Linked DNA regions of Homo sapiens: region 2 is linked to region 1. Evidence: promoter capture Hi-C in 16 types of primary human blood cells and fetal thymus (Javierre and others, 2016). All regions are on one chromosome and are shown on one strand. Each heading gives the region's core, a stretch centred on a gene start or on the middle of the fragment in contact. The rest is flanking DNA. Distances are from core to core; before and after follow the strand shown.

Region 1 (3,692 bases), core at 1,093-3,592:
CAGTACTGAGTCTCATTCATCTTCATATTCTACCCACTGTTCCATCCTTGCCACAGAGTAAAGGTGGTCCTGGTTGAATTAAACTATTCCTTGATTCCACTAATTCCAGTCCTTTATTTTCAAGGAAGTAATAAATGCCTTTCATGTACTGAAGATTTTGTTAATATATTGTAAATGCTTGCTAAATCTAATGATGAAAATGTCAATAATTACATAACACACTAATGTTTAAGCTGATGAATGGCAGAAGGGGGTGGATGACTATAATAAATCATCAGTAAAGACAATCGTTTCTCAAGATCCCCAAAAAAATGTCATTCATAACAACATTAAAATTAACCTTTCTGTCTCCCATTTCAATAATTACTTCTATTTAATGCATATTCAGAAATGCCAGTTCACATAAAGCAGAAGTGTCTGTACATTCTGCTAAGAATGTATGTCAAAGCCACACAATGTATTTGATAACATCTTTCTTCCAATGTCCATAAAGGTAATTTTTATCTTTTATCTTTTGTGCAACTATAAAGGTTAACTATACAAAAGAATAAGACAATTTATCCTAAGATACAACTGGAGCAAAGTTTGTAAATAATTACAAAATACACTAAGTACAGCTCAAAAAAAAAGAAAGCTATTAATGTCACACACCAGATCTGATTTTTTTGGTGAAAAATATTTTCTTAAACTAGTTTCACATCTAATTCCACATTATTCTCACAATTTCTGTAATGTTTTTCTTCTAAATTTACCGGGAAAGCCAATATTCTTCAAAGAAACATCTTTAAAAAGAAACATCTTTAAAAAGTATATACTTTTCATTTTATATCCCATCTTAGATATAGTTTGCCATCTCTCATATCTGTGGCCAAATGTCATTTGAATCGGACTAAGTAATTGCAAAAAGTAAAATAATGACTTATTTTCTTAATTCATTAAAAATAAGTACATTTTTAATTCTCTAATTTAAAGTAAATATTTTAATAGAAGATTTAAAAGGAGCCACTGACCAGCCTGGGTGCTTACTACAAAAGAGTTGAAAGTAATTCACACAGTGTATCAACAGTAGCTGTCTCCCACACACACAGGCACACTCACTCTCTCCCCCATCTGAACTTTTCCTCCCTAAAACATGAGGTGGGAGAAGGGGAATGACCATGACACAGGCCTCACTACCCCCACCCCACGAGTAGACACACATCTCCCTCCTCATCCTGCTGAAAAGAAATGTGGAGGCTGTGGACCAAGAGACCCGATGCTTCTCAGTGTCACTTCCCCTGCATGTGGGATAAACAAACAAACCGGCACCATGAGAGTAACCATCAGAGTGATTTTGCTAACCTTTGACTAATGTCTTGGTTAAGTTTTGAGCTGAGTCAAAGCTCTAAGAAACAGGTAAATCCCTGTGTCCCCCCACCCAACCCCTTAAACACTCCAACGGGAAGTTTATCCCTGAGCTGAACGCTGGCCCCCGTCGCCTCCTCCCAGCCTATCCATGCCTCCTTCCTGCCTGAAGCCCCTACTCCAAAGGTAATTGTCTGGACACAGTCAAGGAGCACCGTGGGCGACACTCCCCACCTCCCAATCTCTCCTAAGGAAGCCCCCGCCGGCCCAGTTGGCCCACCTCCCTCGCCGCCCCAGTCGCGCCGCACCACTCCGGCAACTTTTGCACCCAGCCCGACCCGCCACCCGCGGCCCCCGCTGCCCCCTAGCCCTCCGCGCCCTCAGCCTCCGACCGCGGCCCCCTCCTGCCCACGCCTCCGGGCCACCCGCCATGGTCCTCGCCCACCCCTCCCCCGACACCCGCGCCTGCGGCGCCGCCCCCGCCGCACCCCACCCCACCCGCCCGGGACCCCAGCCCCACCCGGGAGGGAGGGCGCCGCGGCCGCGCCGAGGCAGCCGCCGGGCCGGGGCTGGCAGCGGAGCACCTACGCGCAGGGGGCTTTACCTCAAAGGCGCGGCCGCGAGCAGAGGGGTCGGTCCCGGGCGCGGGCGGCGCCCCCAGTCCGTCAGCGCCGGCGGGGGCAGCGGCGGCGGCACATCACACCCGCCGGCGGCCGGAGGAGGAAAGCGAGCCACGCAGGGAGCGAGCGAGCGAGCGAGCGAGGTAGGGGGGAAGGAGCGAGAGAGAGAGGTAACGCAGCGCTGCTCGGATTCGGTCCCTGCACTGCCGCTGGTGCCTCCTACCGCCGCCGCTGGCCGGAGAGTCGCCGCCCGAGCCTCTGCTGTCGCCACCGATGCAGCCCGGAATGAATGCACAGCAGCGCCTCGCTTATCCGGAGGTCAAACATCCTTCTGCCTCGGGCATCCGGATCGACGCCGGACCCGGAAGTGAACACATGGAAAAAAAATTAAAAAGGAAAGCGTCTGTTTAGCGGCGGCGGCCCCCAAGCTGCCCGCATCAGCGAAAACAGCCGAGTAGAGCCGAAGATTGCACCAACCTTCTTGGATTGGTCGGATCGCCGACCGGAAAGGAGACGGCGCGGTCATTGGCTGGCAAGGTGTATAAAGCCTAAGCCGCGCCCTATCCCCGTCTTTCTAGAGCCGTGCGTGAGGGAAAGTGGGGAGAGGCTGTGGATACGAGTGTTTCTCTGGATGAAGCAGTGGGCGGAGAAGCATAGCAAAGTCTACGCAGAGAACTGGAAGAGAACACCACCATGCTTTAGGAGAGCTACTAAGAACTGAGTGAGCAAAGAGCCTTAAGGGTACCATTGTGCCAAGTCAGGGTGCTGAGGCTTTCCCTGTTGTGCTCAGCCCGCCAGGTTCCAAAAAAATCTTAGGGCCCGGCCTAGGAGTATGACATCACTGGGTTGACATTTTTCCCCGCTTGTTTGTAACCCCAGTGCCATATCAGGGCTCCAACTGCTTAGAAATGTGAATTATGGCTCACATTTGCGTCTCATTTGCTGTTTGTAAGCTGAGGTAATCCTCTGAACTATATAGTGTGGCATTACCTGTTTTTCAAATTCACCTCCCAAAGTTCTGAGAAGCCAAACATCACCCAAGTTATCAAGTTGCAGCGCACAAACTGAAATCGGTGTTTCTGACTCACACTTAAGTCCACTCTGCCTACATAGAAAGACTGCATTCCTTTCATTTTCCCTCTTGCAGTTGCTTCCCTGGGATGGAGATAAGTCATTTTGGTAGACTTCTATGGAAATTGATCCACCATGAAGGCATGGAAACTATAATTTTTTAAAATTGTGATTCTTATGTCTCAAGTCCTTTCAAAAGTTAGGCATTAAGGTGTGCAGGAAGAAGAATCAGCCTGGTGCCATGTTTTTTAAATGTTCATTTTATCAAACCCGTTTATATTCTTAATATACTTACTGTATCAAGAAACTTGAGTCTTGTGTATCTCTATCTCTCCTGTCTACCTCTCAAAACGAAAAGACTAATGAAACAAATGCACTCCTTCATTTTCCTCCCTGCTTTGCTAGATTAACGGTATAGCTAATGTGTTACCTTTGGAAGGGTAGTTAGTATAGAAATCTGTTTTTGATTTTGGTTTGTAATACAACAGTGCCTTTTTTTTAAACCTCTCTTCTCACTTCTTCCCCAAACTGGAAGTTAAGAAGTGACTAGCATCACCAGCCTTAGAAGGGTAGTGATAAGAGCTTTGCTCCATGCTTACCACACCATCATTCTGTAGGAGACTCAAAAGCAGCTAAGATGTATGCATGCTCAGAATT
Region 2 (3,444 bases), core at 681-3,180, 130 kb after region 1:
ATTTTAGGACTTTAGAAATACTCTTATTAGTGGTTAATCAGTATTCAGCTTCAGATTTGAGGGGATGGCTCTACAGGGCTCCAGTGCTCCTTCTCTCTATAACCCCCTCCTCTCATCAACTCTAGTTGCCTCAGCCTCTCTGGTCTCCATTCCGTTTTCTCAGCTCAGCAAGATTGCTAGTGTCTGTTTGGGTTCCCCTTCCTTGAGCTACTACAGTCTTCAGGCAGTAAGCTAGATATATTGTAGTGGTTGCCTCATTTATTTCTCACCTTTTAGGGATCATTGTCCTGTGCTGCCTGTTGCCCAATGTCTAAAAACAGTTGTTTCATAAATGTTGTTTAAGTTGTGTTTATAAAGGAGGGCCATTTGTCTTTTATGGGTGGAAACAGAAGTACACAGGCCTTTGATTTTAAAATAACCAAATCAGCTTTTTCTAACTTAATTCTCACCATTAAAAACTTGAATAACCAGTGAACTTTTAAAAAAGCTGAAAGACAAAAATAAGAGTATTTCAAAGTCTCTATTCTTTAGAAACGTTCAGATAACCAAAATTACAATAATTAGAAGCCCTGACATACATTTTAACATTATGCGAGTTATCCTGTTATTAAGTGAGTTTCATATTAAGTAATATTTACAGACCTCACCTATTAGATATTCATTGAATCTGGGGGAGCTGGAAAATACCATTTTAATTTTTAAAATTTTTAACCTAGCCTTTAAGACAAGATGAGTTTATCCTTGAATCATTTCTCTTCATTGTGTTGAAGAGTATTTTAGTATTGAGGTCTGCAAAATTCAAATCGGGAAATACTTGAAAAGTTAATAAAATTACTAGAACCGTGACAAATTCACTTTGTGCCATAATTAAACTTTCTGTGAAAACTCACCAAGTAATTTTTGGTTTGTTGTCATTTTGGTAATAATGATCTTTTCAGCTAAAATTTGTAATTGGTTTCCATTTATACACTTCTACCCTTTCAGCCTGAAATGATGAGTTCCTGGCTAGTTAATAACTCCAGTCAGAAAACAATATGATGCCTACATAATAAGTGTTTGTGCTGTTTATTCAAATTAGTCATATGATAAAGGTAGATCTGAGATTGAGATTTGCCATTTTCTTTCAACCTAAGTGCATTTTTGAGACCAAATACTTTAATTCATTTGTCTTAAAGTATCCTGTCTTGCATGGGATCAGTTTTTCTTTTAAATTTTATCAACCACTACAAAATCAAGTCAGTAGTGAGAAAAAAAAGTTGTTTTTCAGTATGATGAAATATTTTAAAGCTAAATACCCTGAGACTCTCACTATAGTATTTTTTAAATGTCAATTATATGTGAGCCTTTTCGTTTATTTACCTGATTTGTCTTAAAAAACGATGTATAACTTCTTTCACACTTTGAAAATTTACCTGAAGGAGTAGATATATACGTGGTTCTTGTTCTGCCCTCTGGAGCAACTGAGATATACTCTGTCTTACATATGACTGCCTGTCAGATAGCTGAAGATAGTCATTACCCACAGAGAAGGAAGACATCAGTTCTACATAAGGAAGTGTTCTGTAGATAAGATCATGCTTTCACTTTGGTGAAGATTAGTGGATATTGCCAGGTAGACTCAAAGGGTATTCCGGACACAGCCCCTTGAGGAAAAGGCAAAGAAGTTTGAAATACACTCTGCATTAAGAAAATTATATGTAGTTTGATGTTGGAAGAGGGGAGGAAAGAGTGTGCCTCAAGAAATAAGGTAAGAGAGGTTGATACCCTGGAGAATAAATGATCTCGTAAATCCATTATGTAGAGTTTAGACTAGATACTGTAGGCTTTTCTTAGCCAGGCCTTCCTGAGAGAATGAAGCCCTTAATACCCTAAGTGATCCATTATTGGTAATAAATTAACTTTATCCTATGCATCTAAAATGGTAGTTATGTACCATTTTAGGAGAGGATGGAGAAAATAATTAAATCATTTTCTGTGTTTTGTGGTTCAGATGATAAACCCTGGTTGAGAACGGTAGAAATATCAGAAATTTTTTAAATGAAGATTTTTATATAAAATAATTAGGTTTTCATTCTATAACAATAATTCTGATGGAGGTACAGTGGCTAGAATAGAGGAATGTGAAACTAAAGTCCAGGAGACCAGGAAAGCAATATGTATAAAAAACGAAAGCCAAAAACTAATAGTAGTGAAAGGTTATGGAGAAAAGATGGGTGGTAAAGAGATGATTTTAAGGAGGTTTAGGACCTCAAGCGCTAAGACGTCCTCACGGCTGCTCACAATCCTACTGCTTTCCCTAGTCAATTCATTTTCTCACTCGCCAGAACAGTTAGTTTTTGTCTTAACAAACAATCCTTCCTCATCCTTACCCGGTTTATCTCTGTCTTTGAAACACTTCCTCTATTTGGCTTCTTTGACTATATTTTTTTTTTGGACTACACTTTTCTACTGTTGTGTTCCGCTGTCTTCACTGGTCTCTCTTTCCTAATTTTCATGCTAGATTCTCCTCATGTTGGCTTTATTGGCTTGTCCCACAGCCCAGTCCTCAAATACCATCCTTTCTTCTCTCTGTATACTCACTCCTTGGATGATGTCATTCACTCTCTTGGCATTATATACACCAAGACACCCACCACACGCACCCCCATCCCTGACTTCTTCCCTGGACTCCACACTTGGCTATTTAGTTGCTTACACTACATATGCGTTTCAAATTTAGCAGTCTTTTGTTTCCATCCTCTGTAAATTTAGATTAAGTCTAACATACTAGAGGATGTGGAAATCATAATATGTGAATAACAGTTAAAATTTGTGTTTATCTTGGAGAAGAAAAAAGACCAAGAGGAGGAAATATGACCATCACCAGTCTCAAATTCATAAAAGCACATTTTTTTCTTTGAATTGGCGGATGTAATTTGTGACTTTCCTATTCTTAGGTCCTCTGTTTCAGTGAAATGATGTGTATTTTTGAATTTGTGTGTGTTTTAAGTTTGGGAGAAGGTAGGTAACTTTTTTTTTTTTTTTTTTACTATATTTTAGGTGGCTGAATATACTATTCTAGAAGGAAAACTTCAAAAAACTCTAATTGACTTGGAGAAGCGAGAGCAGCAGCTTGCTAGTGTGGAATCAGAGGTATGTCATTCGTCCATTGTATTTTTTTTCAGCATAGAGGGGTTTATTGCAAAGTAGAAATACTATTTTAAAAGTTAGATGCAAAAGAGTCCCGAGAGAGAAGGGACTCAGGATGGGCTGCTTATAAGAATGAGACAAGCAAAGACTGGAATAGAGGCACTCCATTTATGAGAGTCTTACATAATTATTTACAAAGAGGTGGAAAGTGGTGTTATTAGTAAGTATGTCATCTATCATATATCTTTATTTCACAGAGTCTATATATGAAATTCATACTGTTTATTACTTTGTGCTCTATATATTTCATGAAAA

What was found. Contacts are between HindIII fragments. The CHiCAGO score rates a contact against its expected background, and 5 or more counts as called.
Region 2: a fragment that was not itself captured here is called in contact with the fragment with the promoter of CSNK1G3 in region 1 in 1 of 17 cell types (non-activated CD4 T cells); the score reaches 6.2 in non-activated CD4 T cells.

What each region holds. Positions count from the first base shown.
Region 1 is chr5:123,510,827-123,514,518 of GRCh38, reverse strand. CSNK1G3 (casein kinase 1 gamma 3) reads right to left here and starts at 2,342. Exons shown (of 14, transcript NM_001364140.2): 1 at 1,949-2,342. RefSeq lists enhancers at 1,021-1,170, 2,201-2,410, 2,571-2,630 and silencers at 1,691-1,760, 1,931-2,020. The HindIII fragment of the contact is 13,359 bases long and covers 1-3,692 here.
Region 2 is chr5:123,378,024-123,381,467 of GRCh38, reverse strand. It overlaps CEP120 (centrosomal protein 120), which reads left to right. Exons shown (of 20, transcript NM_001375405.1): 15 at 3,040-3,132. Among named protein-coding and RNA genes, the nearest start is that of CEP120, 44 kb to the left of the region's middle. The HindIII fragment of the contact is 4,009 bases long and covers 1-3,444 here.